Linked DNA regions of Homo sapiens: region 2 is linked to region 1. The links are contacts of gene promoters, found by promoter capture Hi-C in human tissues and cell types (Jung and others, 2019). All regions are on one chromosome and are shown on one strand. Each heading gives the region's core, a stretch centred on a gene start or on the middle of the fragment in contact. The rest is flanking DNA. Distances are from core to core; before and after follow the strand shown.

Evidence for each region. Contacts are between HindIII fragments. The study calls those that stand out against the background at their distance.
Region 2: a contact is called between a fragment that was not itself captured here and the fragment with the promoter of IMP4 in region 1, in 1 of the 25 tissues and cell types used here (lymphoblastoid cells).

What each region holds. Positions count from the first base shown.
Region 1 is chr2:130,340,040-130,345,255 of GRCh38, forward strand. It overlaps IMP4 (IMP U3 small nucleolar ribonucleoprotein 4), which reads left to right and starts at 2,858. Exons shown (of 9, transcript NM_033416.3): 1 at 2,858-2,896; 2 at 3,047-3,155; 3 at 4,590-4,673. The coding sequence starts at 2,894. It overlaps VMA22 (vacuolar ATPase assembly factor VMA22), which reads right to left and starts at 2,125. Exons shown (of 5, transcript NM_032357.4): 1 at 1,976-2,125; 2 at 1,802-1,905; 3 at 1,628-1,710; 4 at 869-1,000. The coding sequence starts at 2,086. RefSeq lists enhancers at 2,041-2,590, 2,721-2,890. The HindIII fragment of the contact is 9,368 bases long and covers 1,336-5,216 here.
Region 2 is chr2:131,561,540-131,566,401 of GRCh38, forward strand. No RefSeq gene overlaps it. Among named protein-coding and RNA genes, the nearest start is that of CCDC74A, 36 kb to the left of the region's middle. RefSeq lists a silencer at 3,507-3,686. The HindIII fragment of the contact is 8,227 bases long and covers 1-4,862 here.

The sequences.
Region 1 (5,216 bases), core at 1,608-4,107:
AACTCCTGCCTTCTGGAATCCTCTCAGCTGCCCACAGCAGGTGAGGGTCGCTCCATCCTCCCAGGGGTTCTGGGTGGAGACCGCAGGCTCTCCTGGACTCCTTTCCTTCCCTTACTCCCATATCTTATCTGTCAGCAAATTCTGGGGCTTCTATTCTTAAAACCTGTGCAGGTTCCCACCACTTACCTCCTCCTCCAGTGACGCTATCTGCTTCTCACACTGGCTGCTCCCTGACACCTACTTCCTCCCTCTGCTCTGTGTCCCCGCCCAGCACCCAAGCATTCCTGTGACCCTGTACAGCCAGTTGCACCATCCTCTGCTCAGAGCCTCTCTGTGGGTCCCACAGTCTTCATCAGGGCTTACATCACCTGACTCCACTCTAGGCCACCGGCCTCGGCACATACCAGATATATCTGGCTTCAGGGCTTTTGTCCTGGCTGGTTCCTCCATCTAGAGCACTGTTCCCCAAAATCACCCACAAAGCTTTTCCTTCACCTCCTCAGAGAGACCTCCCCTGGCCCACTCCTGTCCCACTCCATTATGTGTTTTTCATAACAATTTTCACAGCCTGACTTATGTTAAGGGCCTACTTATTTGCACGTTGCCTTTGTCTGCTTCTAAACATTACATGAAAAGTGTTTGTCTCTTTTGTTCCCTGCTGTATCCCCAGCAGCTAGCATGAACCCGAATGCTGCCAACAACCAGTAAATGCTTTTGGAAAAAATAATGGGTGTACAACGGAAGTTTGGATGGAGGAAAACCTGCAAAGCCTTTCACAGACTAACCCCAGCCATGGCAGCAGTGCTCAAGTGTTCCCTGTGGATAGAGGGTCTGAGGGCCACAGAGCCAAACAACACGGTCCACTCACCATCCCGGAAGCTTGCTTGAGCCTGACGTAGACTGTGAGGAACTAGGATTCCAAACCAGTTCAGGGGGTCCTGAGGGGCCTCAGAGGACTCCGGTTCTGGGGTCTTAGTGGGGCCCTTGCGCCTCCGCAGACCTGAGGAAAGAAAGGTTGGAGGAGGCTGGGATCTTACTCCCTGACCTTTATCATCTTGGTGACAATGTTGAGCTTGATCTGAGCTCATGATTCTATAAAACACTGTTGGTTGGAAAATTCCAACTTTGGGGTTCCAGGAAACAGCTTACCACAAAACACAGCCTTTCCCCTTGTGATTCAGATGAGACTGTTTGTCCACTCTTTCCCGTGACTCCTGTAAGACCCACTGATGACCCTGTTTGCCTGTGACACTGATCTTACCCATTGTACCTGAACATGCCAACAGACCAGACATAGACGTTCCAACTCCCCATTCTTTGTCTCAGGATGATTAACTGGGATTAGAAGTTTGTCCCTCTGAAACTAGCTAGACACACAGATAAATATTTTCTGTTCAGCTGACTGAAATGTATGTGATTGTAAATCTATTCCCAGTGTAAAGCAACTCACCAACAATTTCTCTACTTCCTATAAAAGTCTAAGGCAAAACCACCCTACAAAAACATTCTGTTCTTCTGCTCTGGGATGCTCTCTCTTATCGCAAAAACCTAATTTAAATCATCTCCATAATTTGCATTTTGTCTTTGACACTGGGAAGGGGTTCTGCAGAAGGAAGAGGGGGCTCACCTGCTTCGCGAGGCCCCACCTCCTCTGGGGCGTGGACACCAGCTCTCACCACCTTGAACTTCTGGAGTCCCTCCTGGGCCTCGCTGAAGGACGAGAAGGGAGGATGGAGCTTTGGCAGCCCGGGCCTAGAACGCGCCCGCCCGCCCACCCAGCCCAGCATGGAAGCTTCCTCACCTGGCGTGGAGGCAGACCTGGGGCTCCATGTGGGAAGCATACTGCAGGGGCCCTACCGACTTGGCGCCCATCGCGTAGCGAGCCTTGGCGAGCGAGAGCCAGCCCTGCAGGGAGAGGAAAGCGGTGAGACTCAGTTTACGCCCGTGTACCCTCCTGCCCGCCCCAGGCGCCTACCTCCTCCACCCGGGCGTTCAACACCGTTCGTTTCCCCTCCAGCTCCTCCAGGTCCCCAAGCAGCTGCAGGACCAGCGAATCCAGCTCCGCTCGCAGGTCAAGCGCCGCCATGGACACACCTCCAGATCTGGAGCCACCTTCTTCCTTGTCACCCTCCGCAGTTTGGCAGGACAGCCAATAGGCACACGAGATCCTCCATCAAGGGGCGTTCCCATCTGGGGATCCCCACGCCGGCAGCACCAAGGCCTCTGGGTCAGCTTCTTTAAGGGCAAGCGCCCTTAGAGAAGCAGCACGGAAGCAACCAATCAACTGGTTTCTCCAATTAGCCCCCAAGTGGATCAGCCTGCTGAACTGTCGGCTAGGGTTATAGGTGGTTCTGAGTCCTTCCGGAAGCTGCCGAATCTTAGAAGTCGCGCCACTGTTGTGGCGATGGAAGAAGGCGAAGCTCTACAGAAACCATTTTGGTTGAGGGAAGAGTGGTTTTAAAGTTAATTTGGAAAGGAGCCGGCAAGCAACCTTCAGTCGGTGTGCGGTTTTTACAGTTGAACTGTTTCCAGCCGCTAATTATGATTGTTTTAGCGGTTCGTCATCTGAAAACTGCATTCTGCACGGCGGTGGTGGGGGGAGGACGAGGATGGAGAAGCCTGGGCGGACATATTTATTAGCTGCGGTCCTAAGTCACGTGTGACATTCTGTATCCAGTCTATCGGTTATCCCAAGGAGAACGCCCTGCCGGAATGGCCAATCGCCTTGAGATGTCCCCGCCCTATTCGCCATCTTAACATAGGGCATTCCCCACAGCTGCAGGCACCAGTGAAGCGTCTAAGGGACCATCTTGGTTGAGGGCGGAAGTGAGGACTGTGTCGCGCTGGAGGAGCCCACAGATTCTCCCGGACCCACGTGGAAGCGGCACTCAAGATGGTAGGAGAATGAGCTCCTGTTTCGGAGGTCCGGGGCGCGTGAAGTGCTGGGGATGTGGCTCTGGGGACTTGGAGGCTCAGCGGCTCCGGGGCTCCGGGGTTCCGGGGCTCGGGAGCGAGTAGTGAGTGACTGGGCCTGCTGTTCCCACAGCTGCGCCGCGAGGCCCGCCTGCGCCGCGAGTACCTGTACCGCAAGGCCCGGGAGGAGGCGCAGCGCTCAGCCCAGGAGAGGAAGGAGCGGCTGCGGCGCGCGCTGGAAGGTAAGGCATCGGCCCCGCGGGCGTCTGCGTGGTAAACCACCCCGGCACGCATTTGTGTTCGAATATCCGAGCGTCTTTCCAAATGCTTGCCGGCCGTTTTCCTTGCCCATTGGGTTCTCCTGTTGGTTTTGAGAGTGTTTCTTCCGTGTGATGGTATTAATTACTTGTCACTGACGTTGCAGTACCCGGGTTTTGCAGCTTGCCCGCTGTGTGCAGTGTGTCAAGTTCGTCCCAAGTTTTAAAGACTTTATCTTGTCCTGTAGAAATTCTCTTTAGAGCGGTGGCTCACTGCTGTAATCCCAGCACTTTGGGAGGCCGAGGCGGGCGGATCATGAGGTCAGGAGTTCGAGCCTGACCAACATGGTGAAATCTCGTCTCTACTAAACATACAAAAATTAGCCGGCCGTGGTGGCACGCGCCTGTAATCCCAGCTACTCAGGAGGCTGAGGCAGGAGAATCGCTTGAACCCGGGAGGCGGAGGTTGCAGTGAGCCGAGATCCTGCCACTGCACTCCAGCCTGGGCAAAAAAGCAAGACTCCGTCTCAAAAAAAAAAAAAAAAAGAAATTCTCTCTAAAGACTATCTGGATAGCGCTGGTGCTGCAGACTGCGCTGCCCATCCTCCCTGCAGGAGTTCCTCTGAGCTCCGTGGGGAACAGTGCTGGCCCCGAGTGCGCACCTGGAGCGCTGTGCTCTGCGGTAGGCAGCCTGTGGTCCAGGGCCCGCTGAAGCCATGCCTTCGAAGCGCTGTGGGCATCGTGACCAACGGTTTTGCTGTCTGAGAGCTTAAAGGTCTCTGGTCCACCATCATACGTACAGAACAGTCTATATTTCTTTTCAAAAGTAATTTTTAAGGCCGAGCGCTGTGGCTCACGCCTGTAATCCCAGCACTTTGGGAGGCCGAAGCGGGTGGATCACGAGGTCAGGAGATCGAGACCATCCTGGCTAACACGGTGAAACCCCGTCTCTACTAAAAATATAAAAAATTAGCCGGGCGCCGTGGCGGGCTCCTGTAGTCCCAGCTACTCGCCAGCCTGAGGCAGGAGAATGGCGTGAACCCAGGAAGCGGAGCTTGCAGTGAGCCGAGATGGCACCACTGCACTGCTCTGCCTGGGTGACAGAGCGAGACTCCGTCTCAAAAAAAAAAAAAATCGATGTTTAGATTTCTACCTGATTATAAAAGCAATACAGTACATTAAGATATTTTAGAAAGTCCTCAAGTCATGAGACTAAAGAAAATGAAGTCCTAGTAACCACTGTTTATGGGGGTTGGCCTGTAGAAAGTTTTGTCACCTCTATCCATGCTTTATCCAAGCTCAGAAAGGGCTGAGGTATTTTTATTTCAAGCATGTGCAGGCTAATAAGCTGTGGTGTATTGGATGAGCTGAGGTCTCCATGCTTGTGACTCACTCAGCCCCTCTCTCTTCCCTCTGCAGAAAACCGCCTGATTCCCACTGAGTTACGCCGAGAGGCTCTGGCCTTACAGGGGTCCCTGGAGTTTGATGATGCTGGAGGTGAAGGTAACTATACAAGGTAGCCCTCCCCAACACTGAGCTGGCAGGTCTCCAGTCCTTCCTCAGACACACCGGGCACCATCCCATCAGAGGAAACTGCTCCTGGAACTGTCCCCCATGCCCTTGTCACTGCACAGATGGCATTGCAGGGCTCTCCCTGAGTGTGCCCTGTCCCACTTACATGGCACACATGGGAGTGCCTCACTGACTCTGCACCTGGCTTGTTAATTACCTCCCCCACTGGAGTGCCTGCTGGGGAAAGACAGTGTCCCTCACACATTATTGGTGCCCATACGTTTATTCACTGCATTATTCAAGAAACAAGAAAGGAATCCCAAACATTATAGATATTTGTTACGAGGGAAAAGAGTTTGTCACCGTTGGCCTTAGCAGAGTGTGGATTTCGTTGTGTAATGGAGTAGCTGCTTAGCCCCATGTGACTAATATAGCTTAAGCAAACTACAATTAAACAAAAGATTCTGTTTCTCAGCCACGCTTGTGCTCAGCAGCCAGAGTAGTTGGAGGCTGCCCTCTTGCCCGGTGTGCATG
Region 2 (4,862 bases), core at 812-3,311, 1.2 Mb after region 1:
CTCCCCCCTCCCCCCACCCCACCACAGTCCCCAGAGTGTGATATTCCCCTTCCTGTGTCCATGTGATCTCATTGTACAATTCCCACCTATGAGTGAGAATATGCGGTGTTTGGTTTTTTGTTCTTGTGATAGTTTACTGAGAATGATGATTTCCAATTTCATCCATGTCCCTACAAAGGACATGAACTCATCATTTTTTATGGCTGCATGGTATTCCATGGTGTATATGTGCCACATTTTCTTAATCCAGTCTATCATTGTTGGACATTTGGGTTGGTTCCAAGTCTTTGCTATTGTGAATAATGCCGCAAACAAATGTAATTGGCTTCATGCTGTTTTTAAAAAATTCTTAAATTATCACTTTGGTTAAATAAATGACTTTACAATGACCTGTAATCCTATTTTTAACATCAAGTGTTTTAAACATTTTATATTTGACAAACTTCCCAAAATCAAATTATATATTATGTCTTTTTCTATCCTAAGTAATCCTTTAAGACATTAGGTTCTCTAAAGTCTAAAAATGACATAATTTGGCTTACCTGCTATAAAATGTTTGGAAACATTGTCAAATATGAAATGGTGTTTGGCTTTCTTTCAGATCCATTTGTATATGTTTTTGGTATGTTTCCAAAATGATGGGAAACTCCTGTAATTCTGATATAACTTAGTGTACATTATTTGTAATAATCATAATTGTTATGTTAAAATCATTGTGTGCCACGGAGGTAACAAATTCACTTGTCAATTGTGTCTTTTAACTATGGCTGCCTTAAATTTTTTTTCATCCACAGGTAATTGTCTTGTTTTGTCTCGTTTTAAACCCTCTTTATAAGGTGGGTTTATAATCAGCTATAGGACTCTAACAGGTGCACTTAAGTTCAGGTTTTCTGATAATTTTGGAAATTGTTACACTGGAATAAAGCAAAAAATTTCAAAATTCTCATGGAGAGCTGAAATGTTCATGACTATCAAACAGAACAGGAGTTAACTGAGATAACTGAACCAATAGAAAACTGAAGTTATCTTTTTGACTTTTTGCTTAAAACATTGCTAATACTTTTAGTTTTTCAGAGTTAAGGAAACTTTTATTTACAGCTTTTAACAATAAATTATTGTATATTCCTGTGAACAAAATTTGGAGCATATTTGTTTTTCTCTACCTAATTTCTCCAGAATTTGGAAACTATGAGTATTCTTAATTTATGGCAGTATAGTTACTTGCATAAGTGCAAGAAGAATCTGTTTTATTTTGGAATAGGACACAGTTGGAGAATTTGGTTATTTTATCAAGGGTTTGACTGAAATGGTGTGCTTTCCTTTAAGGAATCAAAACTGACTTATCAAGCCAATAAAGCCCTTGGAAAAACTGGCCTCATATTTTGTGTACACAGTCCCTGTACAGGATTTTGACCTGTGGTAAATAAAGAATGTCATTTTCTGAGAGGTGCAGAAGCCCCAGGTTTATCTTGGAACCTCAAGAGGAGAGGAAATTCACTGAAATCATAGGTATTTGATGGCACAAATCCATGGCTGGGCTTGGCTTTGAAAAAGTCTTATCTAAGATTCCTGCTATGGAATAAAGTTCCATCAAAGCCAATTTAAAAGCCTATGTAAAAAATAATGATTGTTGCACTGTATGCAGATAATTAGGCCAAGTATAATAAAGCAAATCAGTTCTAACATGATTCATCTTTAGTAGAAATTTGAAAACTGGAGAGAGACAAAAATTATTTTTCAAAACTACAGTAGACTTGTTTTTAGATTCTAGTCTTGCCTAATGTTTTTTCAATTTTTATTATTTTCTACAGTTTGGACCGAATTCTAATTTTTCTTGCCTACGAGTCTTTAAAATAATGTTTTCAATTTTTTTTCAATTATTCCTAAACGAAGCGGTGCTTTCTTAAAACCCTGCAAACTGAAGCCAGACCACTTAAACTTCAGAAGAAAATAACAGCAACCTATTTACATACATAAGCCACTTTCATACCTGCCTACTGAGGTATGGACTGCAGAGTAACGTGGCTTATATTGATTTTTCCAGGATTGTTCTTTTGTTTGTTGTTGTTTTTTCTGCCTTCCTCCCCGCTATTTTAACTTCACAGGATGTGAGACTTCACAACCTGCTAAGAATGAGCATTTAGGACCTACCTATCTAGGAATAAACCCTCCTAGCCATGAGAGATCAGATGAAACCCGAGACCAGAGATTCATTTTCTTGTAAAATGTTTTTTCCAAAAGATTTTTTAAAAAGAAAAGGAGAGAGATGTGAAAGGAAAATATCTGGGGCCCCTAAAATCACTAAGGAAAACTCAGGCTGGAAACTGCTTAGGGCCAACCTGCCTCCCATTCTATTTAAAGTCGCCCCTCTGCTCCCTGAGATAGAAGCATATCTGATTGCCTCCTTTGGAGACTAATCAGAAACTCAAAAGAATGTAACCATGTGTGTATCACTCATCTGTGACCTGGAAGCTCCCTCCCTGCTTCCAGTCTTCCTGCGTTTGCTTCAAGTTGTCACATCTTTCTAGACCAAAGCAACGTACTTCTTACATATATTGATTGTTGTCTCATGTCTCCCTAAAATGTATAAAACCAAGCTGTGCCCTGACCACCTTGGGCTCATGTCATCATGTCCCTGAGGCTGTGTCACGAGTGTGTTCCCAACCTTGGCAAAATAAACTTTCTAAATTAACTGAGACCTTCATTTGAGTTTGCTGCTGGACACCCTCATTGTGTTTATTGGCCTGTTTCTCTGTTAATGCCTATCACGAATGGCTTGGGTAACTAAAGCTTTGGGAAGTAATGTAAAGTGGAAGAGTGTGATGGCTCCACCGACTTTGTATGTGTAGGAACTGCTTTGGGAATGCGGGGCATTTGATTGTCCCACGGGATTTTTAGTATTGTGTTGTGATCCTATATGGAAAACAAAAATAGGACATGGTCTGTGTTTTTATTTAAAGGGTGCAACGGACCTTTTTACATGAATCAATGAAACTGCAGGACCTAGCGTCTGTTTCATGCTACAGTGAGGATTTCTTGATGGAGAGAGCATTCCAAATCCTTTCCAGCAATATTGAATATTATGTTATGATACTGTTAAGCCTAGTCACCCTGCTGTGCCGTACAACACCAGAGTAACTGCGTCTCATCTGAACATCCCTTTGCAGCCATTTCCAATCCTCCCCCCAGCCTCTGGTACCCACTGTTGACATTGCTACTCTATGAGATTCACTTTGTTAGATTCCACGTGCATGAGATTTTGCAGTATTTGTGTTTGTCTTCCTCTGCCTGGTTCATGTTTTTTAACTTAATGTCTTCCAGGTTTTTCCATCTTGCTGGTAGTGAACTGATGTCCGGAAGTTTGATGGCTGAAGAGTATACCGTTGTGCATATATCCTTCAATTCCTGCATTTTTTAATCTGTAGAAAGACAAGTAGGTTGATTCCCCATCTTAGTTATTGTCCAGAGTACTTCATGAAACATGAGAGGGAGATACCTCCTTAAGGTAGGTTTGGTTGGCTTTGCAGGTATACCCAGTGTTGGGATGGCTAGAGGAACTGGTGGTTGTGTTAATTGTTTCAGAAACCTCCAGCTGTCTCCCAGCAGGTATACGAATTTGCATTCAAACCAGTAGTGTGTAATAGTTCCTCTGTCTGCAAATCTACACTGCCCTTATCTTCCAAAGTTTTATTGCTGTTTCTGGTCATACTCGTTCTCTGGGAAGAAACTCTTCTGATGTGGACAAACTTTTCTATTACCTGAGAGTCTGTTTCAGGTTTTTTCAGAAATGGCTATGCCAGTCCTTTGGGCATTTTTAGCATGTGTTTTGGTTTTTGTATTTTTGTCCACTTAGGACCATTAGTTTCTTGAGTATGTTAGATAAGAAGCCCTTCCAGATTGACAGTTTTTCATAATTTTCTTCTAGTCTGCAAGATGCCTTTTATTTGGGTTCAGTATTTTCTGTCCTGTGTTGAAGCTGCGTGAAGCTCTGAAGTTGTCCTTAGTCTCACATGGTCACATTAGCTTTTGTTAGTGGTGATTTCTGTGTCCCTTTGAGAAGAAAAGTGAGATGGCGAAGCCATTGTATGGTCTATGGGTATTTGGTTCCTATGTCTTCCTTTTCTGTTTGTGGCTTAGGTTCACAGGTTCAAGTTTACCCACAGTAGACACACACCCTACGTGTTTTCCTTGGAGATTTTGGTTTCAGGATTGAACTTAGGTGTTCAGTAGATTTTGTGTCGCTTTTTGTGTCTTGGGTAAAGGAAAGGTTCGGTCCTTTGCACGTGACCCCTCAGTTTCCTCAACCATTGTGCCTTTGGTGTGCTTTTGGAGGAACAACAAGAATCCCATGGGTTCAGTGTTTATAATTGTGGGTTGATTATTTGGCTCCTTCGTTGTGTCCATTCGGTTGTCTTTCTGTGTTCATGCCACTAATGGATGGATTGGGTCACTGTAGGCTTTTTGTTTTGTTTTGTGTGTTTTCTTCCTTTTTTCTATTTTTATTTCCAAAGCTGGGTTTTCTAAAATGATAGCTACTTTTATTGTGATCGAGGGGTACGCCTGCAGGTTCATTTCACTACATGGCTATACAGTAGAATTTTGATGCTTGGGGTCCTAACGTACCTGTCACCCAGGCGGTGAACACAGCACCAGTTGGGTCTTTCTTCCTCCAAGGCTCCCTGTCTCCCTTTTTTTTCTGTCTGGAAGTACCCAGCGTCTCTTGATTTCATCTTTATGTTGATGTGTATTGGGTGTTGCGCTTCCACTTATAAATGAGAACCTGCAGTGTTTGGTCTTCTGTTCTTGCCTCAGTTGCTTAGCAGAGTGGCCTCCAGTTCCACCCATGTTCCTACCGAGGGCAT